Linked DNA regions of Homo sapiens: regions 1, 2, 4, 5, 6 and 7 are each linked to region 3. The links are contacts of gene promoters, found by promoter capture Hi-C in blood cells and fetal thymus (Javierre and others, 2016). All regions are on one chromosome and are shown on one strand. Each heading gives the region's core, a stretch centred on a gene start or on the middle of the fragment in contact. The rest is flanking DNA. Distances are from core to core; before and after follow the strand shown. Region 1 overlaps CREB3L2 (cAMP responsive element binding protein 3 like 2). Region 2 holds the start of CHCHD3 (coiled-coil-helix-coiled-coil-helix domain containing 3). Region 3 holds the start of STMP1 (short transmembrane mitochondrial protein 1). Region 4 overlaps CREB3L2 (cAMP responsive element binding protein 3 like 2). Region 5 holds the start of TRIM24 (tripartite motif containing 24). Region 6 overlaps DGKI (diacylglycerol kinase iota). Region 7 has its middle 4.2 kb from the start of EXOC4.

Evidence for each region. The method cuts DNA at HindIII sites, captures the fragments that hold promoters and counts their contacts. A CHiCAGO score of 5 or more calls a contact.
Region 1: a fragment that was not itself captured here is called in contact with the fragment with the promoter of STMP1 in region 3 in 1 of 17 cell types (erythroblasts); the score reaches 7.2 in erythroblasts.
Region 2: a contact is called between the fragment with the promoter of CHCHD3 here and the fragment with the promoter of STMP1 in region 3, in 1 of 17 cell types (naive CD4 T cells). The highest score is 6.2, in naive CD4 T cells.
Region 4: a fragment that was not itself captured here is called in contact with the fragment with the promoter of STMP1 in region 3 in 1 of 17 cell types (erythroblasts); the score reaches 5.1 in erythroblasts.
Region 5: the fragment with the promoter of TRIM24 here is called in contact with the fragment with the promoter of STMP1 in region 3 in 1 of 17 cell types (total CD8 T cells); the score reaches 6.2 in total CD8 T cells.
Region 6: a contact is called between a fragment that was not itself captured here and the fragment with the promoter of STMP1 in region 3, in 1 of 17 cell types (M1 macrophages). The highest score is 7.4, in M1 macrophages.
Region 7: a fragment that was not itself captured here is called in contact with the fragment with the promoter of STMP1 in region 3 in 1 of 17 cell types (non-activated CD4 T cells); the score reaches 10.6 in non-activated CD4 T cells.

Annotation. Positions count from the first base shown.
Region 1 is chr7:137,963,771-137,966,470 of GRCh38, forward strand. The region is part of intron 1 of CREB3L2 (cAMP responsive element binding protein 3 like 2); the gene reads right to left. Among named protein-coding and RNA genes, the nearest start is that of CREB3L2-AS1, 12 kb to the left of the region's middle. The HindIII fragment of the contact is 3,676 bases long and covers 1-2,700 here.
Region 2 is chr7:133,080,816-133,083,515 of GRCh38, forward strand. It overlaps CHCHD3 (coiled-coil-helix-coiled-coil-helix domain containing 3), which reads right to left and starts at 1,275. Exons shown (of 8, transcript NM_017812.4): 1 at 1,042-1,275. The coding sequence starts at 1,122. It also overlaps the pseudogene RNU6-92P. RefSeq lists enhancers at 1,008-1,642, 1,058-1,237, 1,448-1,557. The HindIII fragment of the contact is 4,501 bases long and covers 1-2,475 here.
Region 3 is chr7:135,661,100-135,663,799 of GRCh38, forward strand. It overlaps STMP1 (short transmembrane mitochondrial protein 1), which reads left to right and starts at 1,415. Exons shown (of 3, transcript NM_001130929.2): 1 at 1,415-1,495. The coding sequence starts at 1,481. RefSeq lists a silencer at 1,290-1,509 and enhancers at 2,149-2,673, 2,674-2,700. The HindIII fragment of the contact is 1,162 bases long and covers 640-1,801 here.
Region 4 is chr7:137,997,379-138,000,078 of GRCh38, forward strand. The region is part of intron 1 of CREB3L2 (cAMP responsive element binding protein 3 like 2); the gene reads right to left. Among named protein-coding and RNA genes, the nearest start is that of CREB3L2, 3.4 kb to the right of the region's middle. The HindIII fragment of the contact is 1,177 bases long and covers 669-1,845 here.
Region 5 is chr7:138,458,918-138,461,617 of GRCh38, forward strand. It overlaps TRIM24 (tripartite motif containing 24), which reads left to right and starts at 1,342. Exons shown (of 19, transcript NM_015905.3): 1 at 1,342-1,995. The coding sequence starts at 1,632. RefSeq lists enhancers at 1-307, 711-1,493 and silencers at 1,004-1,393, 1,454-1,703, 1,734-2,213. The HindIII fragment of the contact is 2,319 bases long and covers 55-2,373 here.
Region 6 is chr7:137,677,017-137,679,716 of GRCh38, forward strand. It overlaps DGKI (diacylglycerol kinase iota), which reads right to left. Exons shown (of 33, transcript NM_001321708.2): 3 at 1,541-1,636. Among named protein-coding and RNA genes, the nearest start is that of DGKI, 170 kb to the right of the region's middle. The HindIII fragment of the contact is 1,230 bases long and covers 801-2,030 here.
Region 7 is chr7:133,247,566-133,250,265 of GRCh38, forward strand. No RefSeq gene overlaps it. Among named protein-coding and RNA genes, the nearest start is that of EXOC4, 4.2 kb to the right of the region's middle. The HindIII fragment of the contact is 4,060 bases long and covers 1-2,700 here.

The DNA of each region.
Region 1 (2,700 bases), core at 180-2,679, 2.3 Mb after region 3:
TGTCAAGCCAAACTTGATTTGTTTTTATAAGTTTAAAAATAGTTATTGCCTTTTTTATTTTGGTGTTTTTTTTTAAACAACTTATTTTGTTCAATGTTAGGATAGTATTTGACATATCTGTTGAAGAAAGAAAGAAAAAATAGAAATGAACAAATGATGACAACACCAAAGTAAGAATGTATCACAATCTGTTTTCAGCTGAAATAAATTCCTAGAAGATCCTTTATCCCTTTTAAGATGGCCATGTTAAAGAAACACTTGCGGCCAGGCGCGGTGGCTCACGCCTGTAATCCCAGCACTTTGGGAGGTCGTGGCGGGCGGATCACCTGAGGTCAGGAGTTCGTAGACCAGCCTGGCCAACATGGTGAAACCCTGTCTCTACTAAAAATACAAAAATTAGCCAGGCGTGGTGGCAGGCACCTGCAATCCCAGCTACTTGGGAGGCTGAGGCAGGAGAATCACTTGAACCCAGGAGATGGAGGTTGCAATGAGCCAAGATCATGTCATCGCACTCCAGCCTAGGGGACACGAGCGAGACTTCCTCTCAAAACAAACAAAACAAAGCAAAACAAACAAACAAACAAACAAACCCTTGCTTAACCCACTAGCATGTCTCTGGCTCCCAAAACACTTGTCACTACCAAATCAATCATGTGTTTCGACAGGGGAATGTTTTCCTCCGTGTTTAGCCTTTTGAGCACTCAGCATCTAGACTAAAGCACCCAAGGCTATTGACCCATCAAATACAAAAATGTTAAGCCATCTAGAAAAACCAGATCATTCAGTTAAAGGCTTTCTTTGTGCCTCCTGCACTCCCACAAAGATGGGGAGGGAACAAGCATGATATGCAAGGTAATCAATATTGAACAATCCAATATTGAAAACAAACGGACTGCTTTCAAATTCTTTAAATTCTACCATTCTTTTCAAATTATAGAGAGTCATAATCCAGTAGTGATATGGTTTGGCTTTGTTCCCACCCAAATCTCACCTTGAATTGAGCTCCCATAATTCCCACATGTTGTGGGAGGGACCTGGAAGGAGATAATTGAATGATGGAGGCGGTTTCACCCATACTGTTCTCATGGTAGTGAATACATCTCATGAGATCTGATGGTTTTATAAGGGGAAACCTCTTTTGCTTGGCTCTCAATTATCTCGTCTGCCACCACGTAAGACGTGCCTTTTGCCTTCCGCCAACCACGTGGAATTGTGAGTCCATGAAACCTCTTTTTCTTTATAAATTACCCAGACTCAGGTATGTCTTTATCAGCAGCGTAAGAACAGACTAATACAAGTAGTGACCAAACTCTAGTTCTACTACAGAGATTGTCCAACCGGGGAAACAAAATAGATAAAGAAACTGCCCATAAGGTAACATTCTAAATTCAACTATCTCTAAAGCCAGAGTTAGATCAAGGGACAGGATAGTGCTCAAACTGTTGCCAACTCCAGTAATTACTGCTTCCTCAGATTACTTACGATTTTTCTATAAACAGAAATTTAGTCTGTCTCCTTCTGTCTTTCCAACACGCAGTATCAACACACATGCGCACAAATATATTTACACTCGTTGAGGAAAACATGGCCAAAAAGACAGAAACGTGAACTTTTGCTAGTTTAAGCATTCCATTTTTTCCCTTAGGATAATTAAATCGAATCAATGACAAAAGCCCCTTGATTGTGAGGCTTTGCAATCTACATCTGAAATATCAGAATATTGTTAATATTAAAATGTTAATAGAACACACAGGTGAGTAGACCAATGCTATTGGTTCTTCTGGAATACTTCCTTAAGTTATTTTACAAAGAACCCTGGTCTCAGGAAGCACTGATTAAAGTTTCAAGGAAGTGACACAGCCCATGTTATAAGCAAGGACATAGAAAGCCCTAGGTTCTCCAGCCAAACACTGCAACTATCTGCAAAGCTCTCTCTTCTACGGTAAAGAGAGTTGACCAGGGTAACGTCCACTCAAAATCCCACTCCACTTAAAACTATGGGATTCTATGCCTGAGGAGGAGCAAAACAAAGTGCTATTATTTATGTCAAAATGGGCAACTGGGAGAAACACCTACTGAATCTAGCCTCCTCCTCTAGGGCAGGAATGCTTAAACCTGAGGGTGTATCACAATCACCTGGAGAGTTTATTAAAACACAATGGGTGCATCTCACCCTAGAGTTTCTAATTCAGTAGGTCTGCAGTGGGGCCCAAGAATATGTCTTTCTACCAAGTTCTCGTATGCTTTGCTGGTCCATAAAGCACACTCTGAGAACCACTGGTCTTCCAAAGAAGGAATCTGATGTTCACTGATGGCATCAAGGACTTAGGTGAACAGAAGTTGGGAGGGGCATCAAGACAGAGGAGCCAAAGAAGATACAGATCAGAGACAGGAAGTGCAAACATGTGAAAAGTTATGAAATTCCTCCAGAGAGTGGAAAAATAAGGGCTAGTTGCATCTTCTTAAATTATATCCCACTATGTCTTACTGCATAATTTGTAAAATAGATTATATGTTACTTGCTTACATACTTTAAAAAATTATGTCCAATAAGTTTGGATGGTAATGTGATGCACTTTCAGAAAGCAGGTTAAAAAAAGCAAATTCAGTCAACAAAGAAAACTGTTAATACATTGGTGCTCCCTCCAGTGGCTCAGGGAGAAGGAGGAGCACTATCCTTGATATGGAATTGGAATATTT
Region 2 (2,700 bases), core at 25-2,524, 2.6 Mb before region 3:
TAAATATTTAAGAAGTTTTATTTCCTGGTAACAACTGTTAAAAATAATTTACAAATGTAATTTATTTACGCTGGTTGATAACAGAAAAAAATATATAAATTATTATAAAACTTTCTGAAGTCAAAATTGCTTTATTTACTAGGTTCAGGCATCATACGTCCAAAAATGTGAGGCTCCAAATTCAGGCGCAGCGGAGAGTGTGTTAATGAAGTTAGTGCTGGTATACTGACACCCTAGAGAAAAACCAGGTTTTCAGTTTATGTATCAGGTGCATGCAAAGGGCATTAAAAAAAAAGTGCTCTACAACGTTGGTCAGAAATGACTACATTACTTCTACTGGTATGAAAAACTGCAAACCCATCTCAGCCCCTATCAGACTGGCAGACACTAGTCCTGAAGCAACTGGGCCTAATCCAAAACTTCGGCGCAGCAGGTCACAGAGGAGGCGCCTGGGAAAGAGGAGATATCAAGTGAAAGTGAAGCAGGGAGAAGCCAGAAGCCGCCCCAGGCAGGTCAGAAAAGACTGTGGGGCTGGGAGGGAGGATGACAGGGTGTGGGGAGTGGGTGGGAGGAGGGGGTGTTATCAGAGGGAGAGCACTAAATGACACAAAGCAAAGGCAATCCTTAAAATGCCAATTCACCCTGGGAGACAGGGTGTGCACAGTGGAAAAGCAGGGTTTGGGTCCTGAACCCAGGAAAACCATTTCACAGACAAGTACACCGAGGTATGGGTTTCAAATACGGTCCTGCAACAAGGGAGCAGTACAGTTACGAGTAGACTGTGAGCCCTTGCAGGGTATAATTCAACCTGGCATTCCCCGCCCGCCCCAGCAGTGCCTAGCACTTGGCACAACCAGGAACTATCTCTGAATGAATGTCCCACGTCTTGAAACTCTAGGCTTCTTCCCAGACACCTGGGCTTCTGGCCTTAATACGCTAGGGTCCAGGACGGGAGAAACCCAGGCTGAGCGGGTCCGGAGAAGATGGGGCCTTGGGGTCCGAGTCCAACCACTGGCCCTCCGCCCGTCCACGGGCACTCACCCGGATGCCCTTCACCACGGTGATGTTCTCATTCTCGTCCGCCTCGAAGGTGACCCGGCGGGTGCTGGTGGTCCCACCCATGATTCCGGTTCCTGCCCCAGCGGAGACCTAGCGGGGAACCACGAGCACTTCGGGGCCCCCGCACCCACACGCGCGTGGAAGGGCCTGGATTCTTTTCCCGCACAGCGGGAGCAAGGCCACGACCCCCAGAAGCAAGGAGAAGGCGCCGGTCCTGAGCTCCCGCCTCCTCCGGTCACGCGCCACAACAAAAACGCCTCAGGTTGGTCGGCGATGCGAACTGCCCGCCTCTGTTCGGCGAGGGCGCCCGGATTGGTTCACCCGACCCGGATGCTATGGCAACAGGTGGTGTTTGATAGCTTTCCGCGGAGTCCCTGGGTGTAGTGGGAACTGTGGTCTCGATCTGGCGCGGTGGGTGATGGGACATTCTCTCCCCGCGCCTGAGCGCGCTAAGGGAGCACGGCATTCTGGGAGTTGTGGTTTTGACTCCCCAGAGACGCCTAACTGGGCAACTTTTTGAAGACATAATTCTAGAAATTTAGGCCACTAAGTTCAGAGACACAATCTTTCTCTCAAAGGGACTCACAGTTTAATGAAAAAGATGCATGATACTAATGAAGCCATTCCTAGTGTTCTATACACAAATTCCTGGCTCAAAACTTAGCGTTTCATTACAGTCGTAGGGTAGCTTAATGAAGACTACTTCTGAGAAATGCCTCGTTAGGTGACCCTGTGATATCTGTGGTTGTGCAAACATCATAGAGTGTACTTACACAAACCCAGATGGTGTAGCCTACTACACACCTGGGCTACTTGGTGTAACCTATTGCTCCCAGGCTGCAAAGATGTACAGCATGTCACTGTACTAAATACTGTAGGCAATTGTAACACAGTGGTATTTGTGTGTACAAATATATGTAAACATAGAAAAGCTACAGCAAAAACAGTGTAAAAGTGATTGCTTTGGCAACACATCTAGGACAATTTGAACAATACAGAGATTAGCACAGCCCCTGAGCAAGGTTGACACATGAATTTCTGAAGCATTCCATTAAAAAAAAAATCAAAGATAAAAAATGGTATGCTTCTATAGGGCACTTACCATGAATGGAGCTTACAGGACTGGAAGTTGCCCTGAGTGAGTCAGTGAGTGAGTGGGGAGTTGAATGTGAAGGCCTGGGACGCAACTATGCAGTACTGTACCTTTTATCAACACTGTGCACTTAGGCAACACTAAATTTATTTTCATATATTTTCATTCTTCAAGAATAAATTGACCTTAGCTTACTGTAACTTTTTAAACTTATAAACTTCTTTTTTTGTGACTTTTTGACTCTTTAATAACACTTAGCTTAAAACACAAACACACTATATAGCTGTACAAAAATATTTCTTTCTTTATATACTTAGTCTATAAGCTTTTTCTATTTTTGAAATTATTTACTTTTTACTTTTTAAACATTTTTGTTAAAAATTAAGACAAACACACACACATTAGCCTAGACCTACACGGGGTCAGGATCATCAATATCACTGTCTTCCACCTTCACATCTTGTCCCACTGAAAGGTCTTCAGAGGCAATAACACGTATGGAGCTATCTCCTATGATAACAGCACCTTCTGTAACACCTCCTGAAGGA
Region 3 (2,700 bases), core at 165-2,664:
AGACAATAAGGGATGGTGTATCTTGTTTCTAATAAGATGAACTTTTTTTGTCTTTGCTTTATCTTATTAGGGAGTTATATATCTTATTAGGGAGTTAGTGTTTAAAACATACTGTGTGGTATAATAGGCTTAAAATAAATTCTTTAAAAGAGAAAGAGAGAAAAAAACACACACATACACAGACCGGAAGACTGACAGAACAGACTCTTTGTGGCGATGATACAAATTGTCAACAGGACCTATGGCCATCCCAGGCAAGAAACCCAGCTAGGCCAGTGAAACTGAGAGCCAACCTGATGAGGCCTGCCAAATGCAACTTCTCTCACTTGTTTTTAGTCACCTGCTTTTAGTGGATTAAAAAACCCACATAGCTAAAGTCACAGAGCTAAACAATATATATCTAAGCTCCCACTATCTTCCTTATGGATAACATCTCTGACATCTGGGTTGCTTGATAAAGGTTTCTTGTTTTTCAGGAAGTTGGGGTCAGTTCTTGTACAGTTTAAACCACCAACCTCTCAACTGGGCCTGCATGAAAGCCCGATGGGTGTCCTTCTGACATTAGAGGGCCAAAACCTCCACACTCAGATCATGCTAAGGATGTCATTTTGTGACCATGTATCCTATAAAGAGCCATGAAGCTTGACTACCTCGCGCAGATAACCCATTGCCAAACTTTTCCTTACCTTCAACCGCCTTTCCCCACACCTCAGACCACCCTGCTCCTCTATCCCATAAATATCCCTAAAACCCATCTTTGGGGAGGCAGATTTGAGATCTGTTCTCCCGTCTCCTCGGCTGGCTGCCTGGTGAATAAACCTTTTCTCTGCTACAAAACTCATCATCTCAGTGACTGGCGTGCGGCACACGGCAGCATGGGCCCCATACGGTACCCAGCCTCTACCTTGATTACACAACACCTGATTACACAACGCTGATTACACAGCACACCTGCGGAGCTTTGAGAGCTACAAGCCTCCTTTCCTCCCCGCAAAGTCCAGCTGGGCCCAAGTAGAGGATGCTGCAAAAGCCCCCACGATTCAGCTGCGAACCTAGGGATGGGACCCGCTGCTCATGCCGTCCTTCTAGGTTAGAGAGCCCTAAACTGGGCTGTGTATCAGAATAGTCCGCGTGCTGAGAATAATATAGATTCCTGGGCCTCGGCCCAGGTTTACAGAGGCGGGATGCTCAAGGATGCCCAGCCAGGCTCGGGACTTGCTCTTCGCAAGTCCTGTCGCGCGCTCGCTGCCCCGCCGGTTCAGGCGGTGAGGCCAACGCGCTCCGCCAGGGGGAACCTGGGCGCTGCGACACTGCAAGTCGTTTCCGGGCGCGGGCTGAGTGGGAGGAGCGGGGCGGGGCGTGGCGTGACCCGGAAGTCGACGAGGGGTTCCGCCCCCCCCGCGCATGGGGAGGTAGGCTCGGACCGGCCCGCGGAGCTGCTGCAGTCCTTCGCGCCCTCCTCGCCCTCCCCACCGACATCATGCTCCAGTTCCTGGTGAGTGGAGCTGCCGAAGAGCGGGGCCCGCTGCCTGGGGCGTGCCTCGGACCCCATTTCCCCCTTGAGGATTGCCGACCCCGCCGACCCGGCCTGGGCGTGGGTCCAGCGGTCCCTTCGTCCCCCGCGCCTGGTCGTCGCCTCGCAGGGCGGCCGTTTTCTTCCTGCCTCCCCAGAAAATCCCTTTGCCAATATTTTTCTGCAGCCATCCAAGTCCCTAAAACTTTGAGGTGTCAGAGAGTGTGCGTTTCCAGAGCTTCTTATTGTGTGCCGCGCCCCGCGCTCATTGTGCAATCTTTGTATTAAAGCTTGTGTGGTCCTTGATGACTTTTCGTAGTCCGCCCCCCTTTCTTTCTGCGCTCCTGTTCCATTACATGGTCGCCGGCCGGTCCCTGCTGTGGAGCCCTGCTAGTTGGCTTTTCTGAGGAGGTAGGAAGGCCAGGAATAAACCGTAAATTAGCCACCTCACGAAGTCCGAGAGGCTAAGTCCTCATCAGACCTTTCAGAGTTGGAGGAATGAGTCAGACACTGGTATACAAGTAATTTTTCCCAAAATGTGTAAGCATGAGTAAGCAGACTATTTCTCTTGGCTCCTTATTTGAGTTAAAAACGAGTTTTCTGGCAAAACTCGGTATATTTCAAAAATTGCTTGGTGAAGGTTCCAGGAGTTGCTCATCAAATTTTCAAGTGAAAGTTTTTCTGCCAAGCTATTGTGCATTCAAAACTTGATGCTTTCAACCTCTATTTTTTTTTATTTTTTATTTTTTTTGAGACGGAGTCTCGCTGTGTCGTCAGGCTGGAGTGCAGTGGCGCAATCTGGGCTCACTGGAACCTCCGCCTCCCGGGTTCAACCGATTCTCCCTCCTCGGCCTCCGGAGTAGCTGGGATTACAGGCGCGCACCAGGATGCTCAGCTAATTTTTGTATTTTTAGTAGAGACGGGTTTCACCAAGTTGGCCAGGCTGGTCTCGAACTCCTGACCTCAAGTGATCAACCCACCTCAGCCTACGAAAGTGCTGGGATTACAGGCGTGAGCCACTGCTCCCGGCTCAAATGCTGTATCTTTTTTTGTTGTTTGTTTTAACGGAGTCCCGCTCTGTCGCCAGGCTGGAGTGCAGTAGTGCGATCTCGGCTCACTGCAGCCTCCGCTTCCTGGGTTTAAGCGATTCTCCTGCCTCAGCCTCCCGAGTAGCTGGTGCGCGCCAG
Region 4 (2,700 bases), core at 7-2,506, 2.3 Mb after region 3:
ACATATATAAAATACATTTTAAAATTTATAGATTATTTTGCTCTTTAAATTGCAAAAGGGGGCTGAGCACAGTGGCTCACACCTGTAATCCCAGCACTTTGGGAGGCCAAGGCAAGAGGGTCCCTTAAACCCAGGAGTTGGAGACCAGCCTGGGCAACATACTGAGATCCCGTTTCTACCAAAAAAAAAGAAGAAAAAAATTAGCCAGGCATGGTGGCACACACTGATACTCCCAGCTACTCTGGAGGCTGAGGTGGGAGGATCACTTGAGCCTGGAAGGTTAAGCCTGCAGTGAGCCATGATTGAGCAACTGCACTCTAGTCTGGGTGTCAGAACAAGACCCATCTCAAAAATAAAATAAAATAAAATAAAATAAAATAGAAATTACAAAAGCACAGACAATTCCCAGAAAGTAATTTTCAGAGAATTTTATAGGAATACAATACAAATGGCAGAAATGTCCAACATACAGGCAGGTCTGGGGAAAGAGGCAAGGTTTCTTCTCACGGTGGTACCGAACCCCAAGAGATATTCTCCTGATTTCTAGATTTGCCATCTTTTCTGAACCAATTTTAGCCTGTATTCCATCTTGAAGCAACAGCTTTCCTAAAATCAGTACTCACTGAATTAAAATAACATTTCATCATCTGTATGGAAACAATTTTTTAAGCTTCAAGAGGAAGCCCAGAGCTTTAGCAATTCAGGATCTAATGATCAGTCCATCTTTGCCCTATCCATATGCTTCATTATTTTGTAGACTCTGAACCTGTCTGCCTTTGTCCTTGTAGACCAAGATGTCTTCATAACTAACCAAATGAAAAAAAACATTGCTCCTAACGGTTAACAGAAGGCTCCTGAGAAACATCATAATCTCAGCCTTGGGTAACTTGAACATTCTAAATTGTTTAAATCAAGTATGTGACAGGTTTGCTAAAACAGAGCATTAGCAATCATGCATGTAGTAACTAAATCCCTAGTAAGAGCAACAAAAGTGATCTCACTAGGAAGGTTTGGTGGCTGCCACTGTCAGCCTCATTTAAACATTAGCTGCTTTCAGGCTCAGCAGTTCCTATATTCCAATCACTCTCTCCCAACCTCTTATTCAGTTCCTTCTCTTTAAGTCAGGATTCTTCACTCAGACAGCCTGATAGGCAAGTACTTGCAGGCAGGCAAACATGGGTTTGAATCCTGGTTCTATCACTAAATAGCTGTGGGAACTGAGCCAAGTGGCTTAAACTCACGAAGCCTCATTTTTCTTATATGTAAAATAAAAGTAATAAAAATGGCTCATTTCACTGGGTCATTACAAGGGTTAAATGGCATAATATTTGTAAAGCACTAGACACAATGTCTTTCAGCAGGACCAGCTACGTAATTTGTGAAACCCAGTGCAAAATGAAAATGTAAGGTCCCCAGTTCAAAAAGAATTAAGATTTTCAAGATGGTGACAGCACAGCATCAAACCAAGTGTGGACCCCGTGGCACTGCATGGGTGGCAGGCCATGTGGTCAGCCCTGCCTTTCGGATGATAAACACTCAATAGATGGTAGCTGTCATCATCTCTTACCACCCTCACAACTCGTATTTGAACCTCACCCTCCCCTCAGGCTCTCTTCAACTTGGAAAGTTTTATGAAATCATTCCAAAAACAGGCACTGGTGTCTCAGAAGCACCCAGAGTTTATAAGACAAATAACTCACCAAAATGAGTAATCTGAAATACATGATATTAACACAGTCTCATGAAAATGCACACCTACCTTAGGCCTTTGCTCTAGTTCTTCATCCTGCTGAGCTAACACTCTTACCTCCTTCCAATTTTTGTTCAGATCCATTTTCTATGGGAAGCTTGCTCTGATCACTCAGTTCAATCCCATAGTTTGCTCTTCTTCCACCTTGTATTCTCTATCCCCCTCACCTTGTTCTACTTATACGTTTTCCATAACACTTATTTCATCCAACATAATCACTTCTTTATAATGTTTATTGTTTATGTTCCCCTACACACACACACACACACACACACACACACACACACACACGAATATAAGCTTCTAGAAGTCAGGGATTTTGTCTGCTTCTGTTCACTCATGTTTCCAAGTGCTTTATATATTCCACAAATATTAATCGAAAGAACAAATATCTCTCTGACTGAATGAATAATCAGGCCATCCTTTTTCTACATAAAGATTCAGCTAGAGTAACAAACAGCTCTGCCCCTGGATATCTAACAGAGTTCAGGAAACAGATGGGAAAATTATCTCCCCACCTCTCCCAAACGTCCCTTAGTTTGAGAGAAATATAACCCAATCATTTGTGCTGCTAAACCAATACCTCTTTCAACAGTAATTCATATGCACAGTTTGTTGCACTGACTTGCAGCAATGATGAGCAGCATTTTACAGGAATGAGCTGTTCACAACAGACATGTACCTAAGTGGAGGACATAATAAGCATTTTTTAAAAATAGAAATAAAAGAAAAATAATCACACATTCCTGCTTTATCACAATGACAGAAAAACTGGGCTGTTAATATCAAAGCAAATGTAAGGCCTCTACTCCCTGAAAGTGTGCATAAGGTGTTAGTTAGAGCCAGTCCAAGCAGTTCTTCCCAGAGTGAATGCCACAGTCACGGGTAGCATCTCGCACCTTTCCCTGTGAACTCACAAATGCAAGCTACAGGGCCAAAGAACAGCAAGG
Region 5 (2,700 bases), core at 92-2,591, 2.8 Mb after region 3:
ACTAAGGTTTAAGAGCTACTTCCATGCAAAAAAACAAACAAACAAAAAATCCCAAGCTTAAACAGGAACCAATGGGTGGGGGAGGCGGGAAGAGCTGTTGAATGTCTTGTGATTAAGTAAAAGAACCTCTCACTTGAGGCCTACGGAGGTTGTGTTTAAGGGCAAGGTCTTGAAGGAAGGCTACGTTGCCTAGCCCTCCCCCATTGCCATCCCATATAGTCCTCCAGGAAAACTGTGATTTTAGCAAAGCCTTTCATGACCCACTCCATCTTTCTCTAAAGTCCAGTACCGCTTCATTAGTATTGACAAAAAAAAAAAAAAAAGGTAAATACTTCTTAAAGTTACGTGTTACAAAATCTTGTTTCCTTCATTCCGTTTCTATTCTTCAAGTTCCTTAAAAGCTGCGCCATTTTTTGAGTGAAAAATGTGCGTAACTTCTGATATCAGCGTAGAGAGGTGAGGGAGGGAGGGAGGGAATAAAATAAGAGGGAGGGAGGAAATACAAAAGAATCCTGAAGTTATGAATTATTTGGGTAACAGTATTGAGGTTTATTTTTGCTTAATGATGCTATATTTATGCAATAAAAACATTTGTCAATCTGTATTAATTCCTGGGAAAACGAACCACTTTTAGTCACTTAAAAAGCAAATCACTGACTTTAAAAATTAATTTCACCTTTTTCATTGGGGAAACCCTTTAAAAATTTCCAACTTGCACGAGAACTTCCCCCCCTTATTCTTCATACTCATTCATTCTAGAGATGAGTAAAATTAGGTTGCAATATCCCTGCTGCCTCCAGAGTACCTCTTTCACACAGTATTTTAAAAAATTATTTCCTTGTTTGCTCTTCAGTACCTCCACTCCTTCCTCCTGTGACCCTCCGACCATATTTACTCCTCCTACAAGACCAGGTCTCCAGTAATGAAATCAGTTTTCCAAGCAGTTACTTAATTAACGGCATTGAGTAGACAAGTGAGGTCCCGCCCCCTAGGAGGAGCTAACACCGCGGACCGAATCAGGCGGATGGTCGTTAACAAATGAACCCTTAATCTTTTCAGAGGAGGAAACATACACAAAGGCCCAATCAGAAGCCGCGATTTCAGGCGTCCGGAGGGGGCGGGGCTGGGCAAGCACCTCCCACTTCCCAACCTCCCGCCGCGGCCGACGGAGCCTCGCGGGCTCCAACAGGTCCCGCCCCCTCGCCAGGCGCGGCCGCTATTGGGCGGCGCGCTCCACACCGAAGCCTCAGTTGCTGGGAGAGGGAGGGCGGGGGCGGGGGCGGGGCCTGAGGTGGGCCAGGGGGATGAAGAGAAAGGCGGGGAGGCAAGGGCGGGCTGGGCGTATTCCACGAGCGCCTCGGCGGTTGGCGAAGCGGACGGGGTGCAGCCTCCCCGGTGCGAGGAACGGTCTCCGCTGACAGATACCCTCCTTCCGGCCGCGCCACTCGGGAGGCGGATCCCGTGGGCCTGAGGAGGCTTCCCCCGCCCGGTTTGCTTTCCCTCCCTCGCTGGCGCTGCCGCGAGTCCACCGAGCGGCCTCTGAGGAGCAGCCGCAGGAGGAGGAGGAGGTCGTCGGGGGCGGCGGGCGGAGACCGCGCTCTCGCTTCCCCGGCGGCGGCAAGGGCAGGACAATGGAGGTGGCGGTGGAGAAGGCGGTGGCGGCGGCGGCAGCGGCCTCGGCTGCGGCCTCCGGGGGGCCCTCGGCGGCGCCGAGCGGGGAGAACGAGGCCGAGAGTCGGCAGGGCCCGGACTCGGAGCGCGGCGGCGAGGCGGCCCGGCTCAACCTGTTGGACACTTGCGCCGTGTGCCACCAGAACATCCAGAGCCGGGCGCCCAAGCTGCTGCCCTGCCTGCACTCTTTCTGCCAGCGCTGCCTGCCCGCGCCCCAGCGCTACCTCATGCTGCCCGCGCCCATGCTGGGCTCGGCCGAGACCCCGCCACCCGTCCCTGCCCCCGGCTCGCCGGTCAGCGGCTCGTCGCCGTTCGCCACCCAAGGTGAGAACCGGCCGCGGCCGCTGGGGAGCCCGGGGAGAGGGCCAGGAGGGGGCGGGCGCCCTTGTGCGGCGCGACCCGCTGTCATGTCGCCGCCGCCCGGGGTGCGCGGCGGGGGAGGGGCGAGCAGGAGGGTCTGTGCTGGCGACGGTGACATGGAGGGCCCGCGCTCTGCGGCGTGTCGCGCTCGGCCAGCAACTTCCCCGGGCGCTGTGGACTTGACCGCGCCGCCGCCGCCGCCGCTGCTCCGCATTCTCAACAGCCGGGCGGCCCCTGCCACTCGCACTTTTGCAGACCTCTGTCGGAGTCTCCTGCAGCCGGAATCTCGGGTTCTTTGCCGGCTGCAGCCAGTTAACTGCTACCCGCCCGCTGCCTCCACAAAGCTTTGTCCAGGTCCATATGATCCTGATCATCTCGTCTATACTCACGTTATTTGAGCTGCAGGGGAGAAGGGAGGGATGAAGATGAAGTGATGGTGACTTTCTTTGATGATTGATTGCAGATCGGATGTCATTTATTTCTTATCTTGCATGTTTGGGGCTCTTTACCTTAATGAGTTCCCAGTTCTCTTCCCTCTCCTCTGCTGGGGACAAAGGAACCAAGAGACGTTGTTTTGTTGTGTGTCTCTTTCAAAGGTTTTATTTTGAGACGGCGAAGAGAAATAATACAAAGTGATTTGGGTTTTCTGGTATTTTATAGATAAAGCTG
Region 6 (2,700 bases), core at 166-2,665, 2.0 Mb after region 3:
TCTTACATCCCAGGACCAGTGTTTACGCAATTAACCAAGACACTAATGTTAATTCATTATTTACAGCATTTTAGTCCAAACAGCTGAGCTTCTCATGGATTTCGTTAATTCAATCCAATTCCATGCAATTATACTTTAATTAAAAATACATATGCATAAAGTTGAAATCCTGATATTTAAGTCAATTAAATTTACAACAAAATTAGAAGAGAAGCAAATGATTAATTACAGGTCTAGAAACAAAAATAAATTAATAAAAAAGAATTTAATCCTACTCTCTGTTTTAGAAGGTAGCCAAGGCCCAAAGGTCACGAGTTCTCAATGTCACACACTGAGCAGTAACACTGAGATTCAGCTCCAGGTTTCCCGACTTCCAATCCAGAGCCTGTTCATCTGGGTCTTTCCCTGACATTGATTCCCAACTTCACTTAAACAGGCCCTGTTCTCCCCAGAACTCTCAAAACTCTCCAAATGAAATTTATAAACAAGGAGTTAAAACAGCTAAAGCAACAAAAAAGGTCTTGGTTCTGGGACTTTGTGCTTTTAGGCAGCCTGGTTAAAATCGTTGGGGGCTATACATATCCTTCTATAAGCTTTGATGGAAACTCGATTTATTCCATATTGGTTATTAACAAACACATATTCATCTGCAATTTCAAGGCCCTACATCTTGCTGCAAATATTTCTTTCACATAATAAACAAATATTTTTTTAAAAAAGAAAAAAGCATTCTATAAATTCTGGTGCTAATTTCCCCAAATAAGAAGGAATACATCTTTTATCTCTTCTTTACTATCCTAAGCTTCCCATTACTGTCTGTTTGGACCAATCATTTAAAACTACACACAAACTTTAAGTTCAATTTCTCAACACTGTGGTTTTGATATCTCCACAATGCACTACTTGGCAACCACACTTACCTCACAACATAAAGAGAATTTTAACCCTCTAAATAGATTGTTCTAAATAGGGACACAAAGCAAATTTTAAACAACAAAAGTTAACTCCAATTGACCTGACTGTTGATTGTTTATATTATTTCTAGAATCGTATCCTCCAGAACTTAGTCTGGATTATTTGTTAGCCTACACCCATTCCCAGCACAGGTGTTTCCCTCTCTTTCCACCTTCACCCACCAGTAAAGCCCCCACTGTGGCCACTTCCCTACAGACAGAGCCCCTTCCTCCACACACAGGCCTTGGCCCCACACCAACAACTCCTCCATAAGGAGACACTACCTCGTACACATTTACCCTCTGCCCCCCACCAACACACAACAACCTACCCTGGGCATCATTATAAAGTAACACATGACACCAAGGCCTGGCCTGCATAAGTGAACCCTAAAACCATTACGAGCGACAACCTGAAAGCCATGTTAACTTGAGAAACTCTCTGCAAACCTTGAAAACATCCGGAAAGTTTTCCATCTCACAAGGACAGGCTCGTTCAAACCTCCCCTTGGAAATTTAGGCAAGGTGACCCCTCTATTCATTCAGATCCACAGGCCTTCCCCCAGCAAGACGGAGCGCACACTCACTGCAAATCTGACTTGGCAGTTCTCCTCTCCAAGGTAGCAGAGGTCTCCCGAGACGTTGGTCTCCAGCCACAGGTGTTCTCCATTCACGGCATTCTCCTGCAAGGAAAAGACCCACCTGACATCAATTTTTTTTTTCCAGGGATAAGGAAAACTATTTCAAATTTAGATTTGGGATACAAGAAAGTTAGTGAAACCAAGGAGTCTAAACATTTCTCATTTGACCACTAAAAGTACTGCTAGAGTTGATTCTCCCGAAATTCTAAAAAGGGAGAAAGGTGTTTGGAAAAACTTTGAGCTATAACTAAAATAAACATTAGGTTTATAGCTGCTTTATCCATGGAGGTGGACATTTTTGAAACATATTCAACAAATGAGGAAAAAACACCTCTAAATAGTTCGATGTCAAACCTTATTCACCAGGCCCACCACTGCAAATGTCATGACAACTGAGACTAAAATTATATTAAAATTTGACTTTGCTTAGTGAATAAGCTTAACAAATTAGCTAAAAAGGAGGATGGTAGCATTAAAGTATTTTAAGTAAAGACAGTTTGAAAACACAGTTATACCAGTAATAGGTAAATTATATTTCTAAGGGCAGAGGCTTCTTAAAACTAAGTCCCTGTGTACTCAAAGCATAATACGTTTCTGCTAATTCACATCTTACTAATTCAGTAAGGTCTTCACCCAATTACTTCTCAATTTTTCAAACTAAATGTTATTGCTTCTAAAAATATTCATATACTTTGGATGGGGAACAGAGCTGCTAGAATGTATGACCTGATGAGCAACAACCCTATTTTCCAGAAATGTGTAGTGCGGTATTGGGGAAAGGGGGAAGCAAACTGTTTTTTTTTTTTTTTAATCGTACGATGAATAGAATTCCATATTCCTTCTTATGGGACTCTATCTTGGAAATTATAGATTTATATATTAATTGTATATTTTGCTCATTTGCTTAAAAGGAGCTCTGAGCTGTTAGGGAAAGTATTGTATTAGATTAACCATAAAGAAACAAGACTAAGTCTCCATGGCTTACAGGAAAATTACTCTTGTTTTTATTTTATTCATCAGATGTACATGGGCATGTAATTATTTTTTATGGGGGATACTATGGACTAAACTGTGTCTCCTCAAAAATCATATGTTGGCCAGACACG
Region 7 (2,700 bases), core at 180-2,679, 2.4 Mb before region 3:
TTTAGCCAGGCATGGTGGCATGTGCCTGTAATCGCAGCTACTCAGGAGGCTGAGGCAGGAGAATCACTTGAACTTGGGAGGTGAAGGTTGCAGTGAGTCGAGATCGCGTCACTCCAGCCTGGGCAACAAGAGCAGAACTCCGTCTGAAAAAAATAAAATAAAATAAATTAATTAATTTGGGTGTGCTAATTTATTTATCACTTAATTGTATTTCCATTTTGTGATGAAAGTAGGCCATTGTTTCTGACACTTATCCAATTCTCCTTTAAAGGAAGTACTTTTGTGTATTTCTGCTTATAAAAAGCAACACCTGGAAATTTTTTTTTTTTTTTTTTTTTTTTTTAGATGGAGTCTCCTTCTGTCACCCAGGCTGGAGTGCAGTGGCACAATCTTGGCTGACTGCAACATCCGCCTCCCTGGTTCAAGCAATTCTCCTGCCTCAGCCCCCAGAGCAGCTGGGATTACAGGAGCTTGCCAACACGCCCCACTAGTTTTTATGTTTTTAGTAGAGACGGGGTTTTGCCATGTTGGCCAGGCTGGTCTCGAACTCCTAACCTCAGGTGATCCACCTGCCTCGGCCTCCCAAAGTGCTGGGATTACAGGCATGAGCCACTGTGCCCATCCCGGAAACTTTGTAAAACACAGAAAAGTGTAAAAAAAAAAAAAAAAATTACCCATGTTATTGACGCTCAAAACAACTTTGCAATAACCCCAGAGATGTATTTTCAACAAAATTAGTACCATACTTTAGTAATAATAGCTGATATTTACCAAGTGCTGATAATGTATATCTCACATATTCTTACAATAACTCTCTATGTGAAGTACAATGACCACCTGCTTTACAGATAAAGAAACTGAGGCAGAGTAAAGTTAAGTAACTTGTCCTAGGTAATCTAGCCAGGAAGTGGAAAGCTGGGATTGAATCTAGGCCATCCTGCTACACAAACTGCATTTTTTTTTAAGGTGTGGTGAAAAACACATAACATAAAATTTATGACTTTTGACTACTTTAAAGTTTATAATTTACTGACCTTTAATACATTCACAAGCTATGCAACCATTGACTGTAGTTCCAGAACATTTCATCACTCCAAAATGAAACTCTGTATCCATTGAGCAGTCATTCCTCATTTCTTCCTGCCCTGCAGCCCTTGGCAACCACTGATCTGCTTTCTGTCTCTATGAATTTGTCTGTTCTGGATATTTCAGATAAATGGGGTTATACACAATATGGCCTTTTGTGTCTGGCTTTTTTCTGTTAGCATGATTTCAAGATTTATCAATATTGTAGCATATATCAGTACTTTTTTCATTTTTATGTGTGAATAATATTACATTGTATGGATATAGCACATTTTGTTTATACCACACTGATACAGTCATATTGTTGCAGTTCATTCATTGTTAAACATTTGGACTGCTTCCACCTTTAGGCTATTTTGAATGGTGCTTTTATGAATGTTTGTATACAAGTTATTTTCCGAACACTTGTTTTCAATTCTCTTGTGCATATACCTATGAGCGGAATTGCTGGGTCATATGGTAACTTTATGTTTAGTTTTTTAAGGAACCACCAAATTGTTTTCTGCAATGGCTGAACCATTTCACATTCCCAAAATAAATGTACAAGGGTTCCAGTTTCTCCACATACTTGCCAACATTTATTTTCCATTAAAAAAATTGTAACCAACCTAGTGGGTGTGAAGTGGTATCTCATTATGGTTTTGCATTTTCCTATAATGATTAATGATGTCGAGCATCTTTTTATGTGCTTTTTGGCCATTTGTGTATCTTCTTTGGAGAAATGTCTATTCACATCCATTGCCTAGGTTTTAATTTTTATTTCCTTTTGTGTTGAGTTGTAAGAGTTCTTCACATAGTCTAGATACAGAACTCTTACCAGATACTGTATGTGATTTGCTTTTATTCTCTCCCATCCTGTGCCTGTCTTTTCACTTTCTTGAAAAGTGTACTTTGATGTATGAGGGTTTTTAATTTTAATAAAGCCCAATATACCTATTTTTTCTTTTGTTGCTTATGCTTTTGATGTCATAGCTAAGAATCATGAAAATTTACCCTTGTATTTTGTTCTAAGAGTTTTATCTCATATTTAGGTCTTTGATCCACTTTTAGTTAATTTTTGCATATTGTATGAGGTAGGGTCCATCTTCACTTTTTTGCTTATGCTTATCCAGTTTTCAACACCATCTATTGAGGAGACTATTCTTTCCTTATTGAATGGTACTGTCAGCTTTGTTGAAAATCAATTGACTGTTTGGGTGCGGTGGGTCATGCCTGTAATCCCAGCACTTTGGGAGGCTGAGGTGGGCAGATCACCTGAGGTCAGGAGTTCAAGAACAGCCTGGCCAACATGGCAAAACCCCGTGTCTACTACTTGGAAGGCTGAGGCACAAGAATTGCTTGAACCTGGGAGTCAGAGGTTACAGTGAGCTGAGATTGAGCCACTGCACTCCAGCCTGGGTGACAGAAAGAGACTTCGTCTAAAAAAAAAAAAAAAGAAAATCAATTGATCATAGATGAATAGGCTTATTTCTGTATGGCTTATTCTACTATATTTATCTATGTGTTTATTTTTATGCAAGTACCATGCTATTTTGATTACTGCGGATTTTTAGTAAGTTTTGAAATCAGGAAGTGTGAGACCTCCACATTGATTTTTTTTTTTTTCCAAGATTG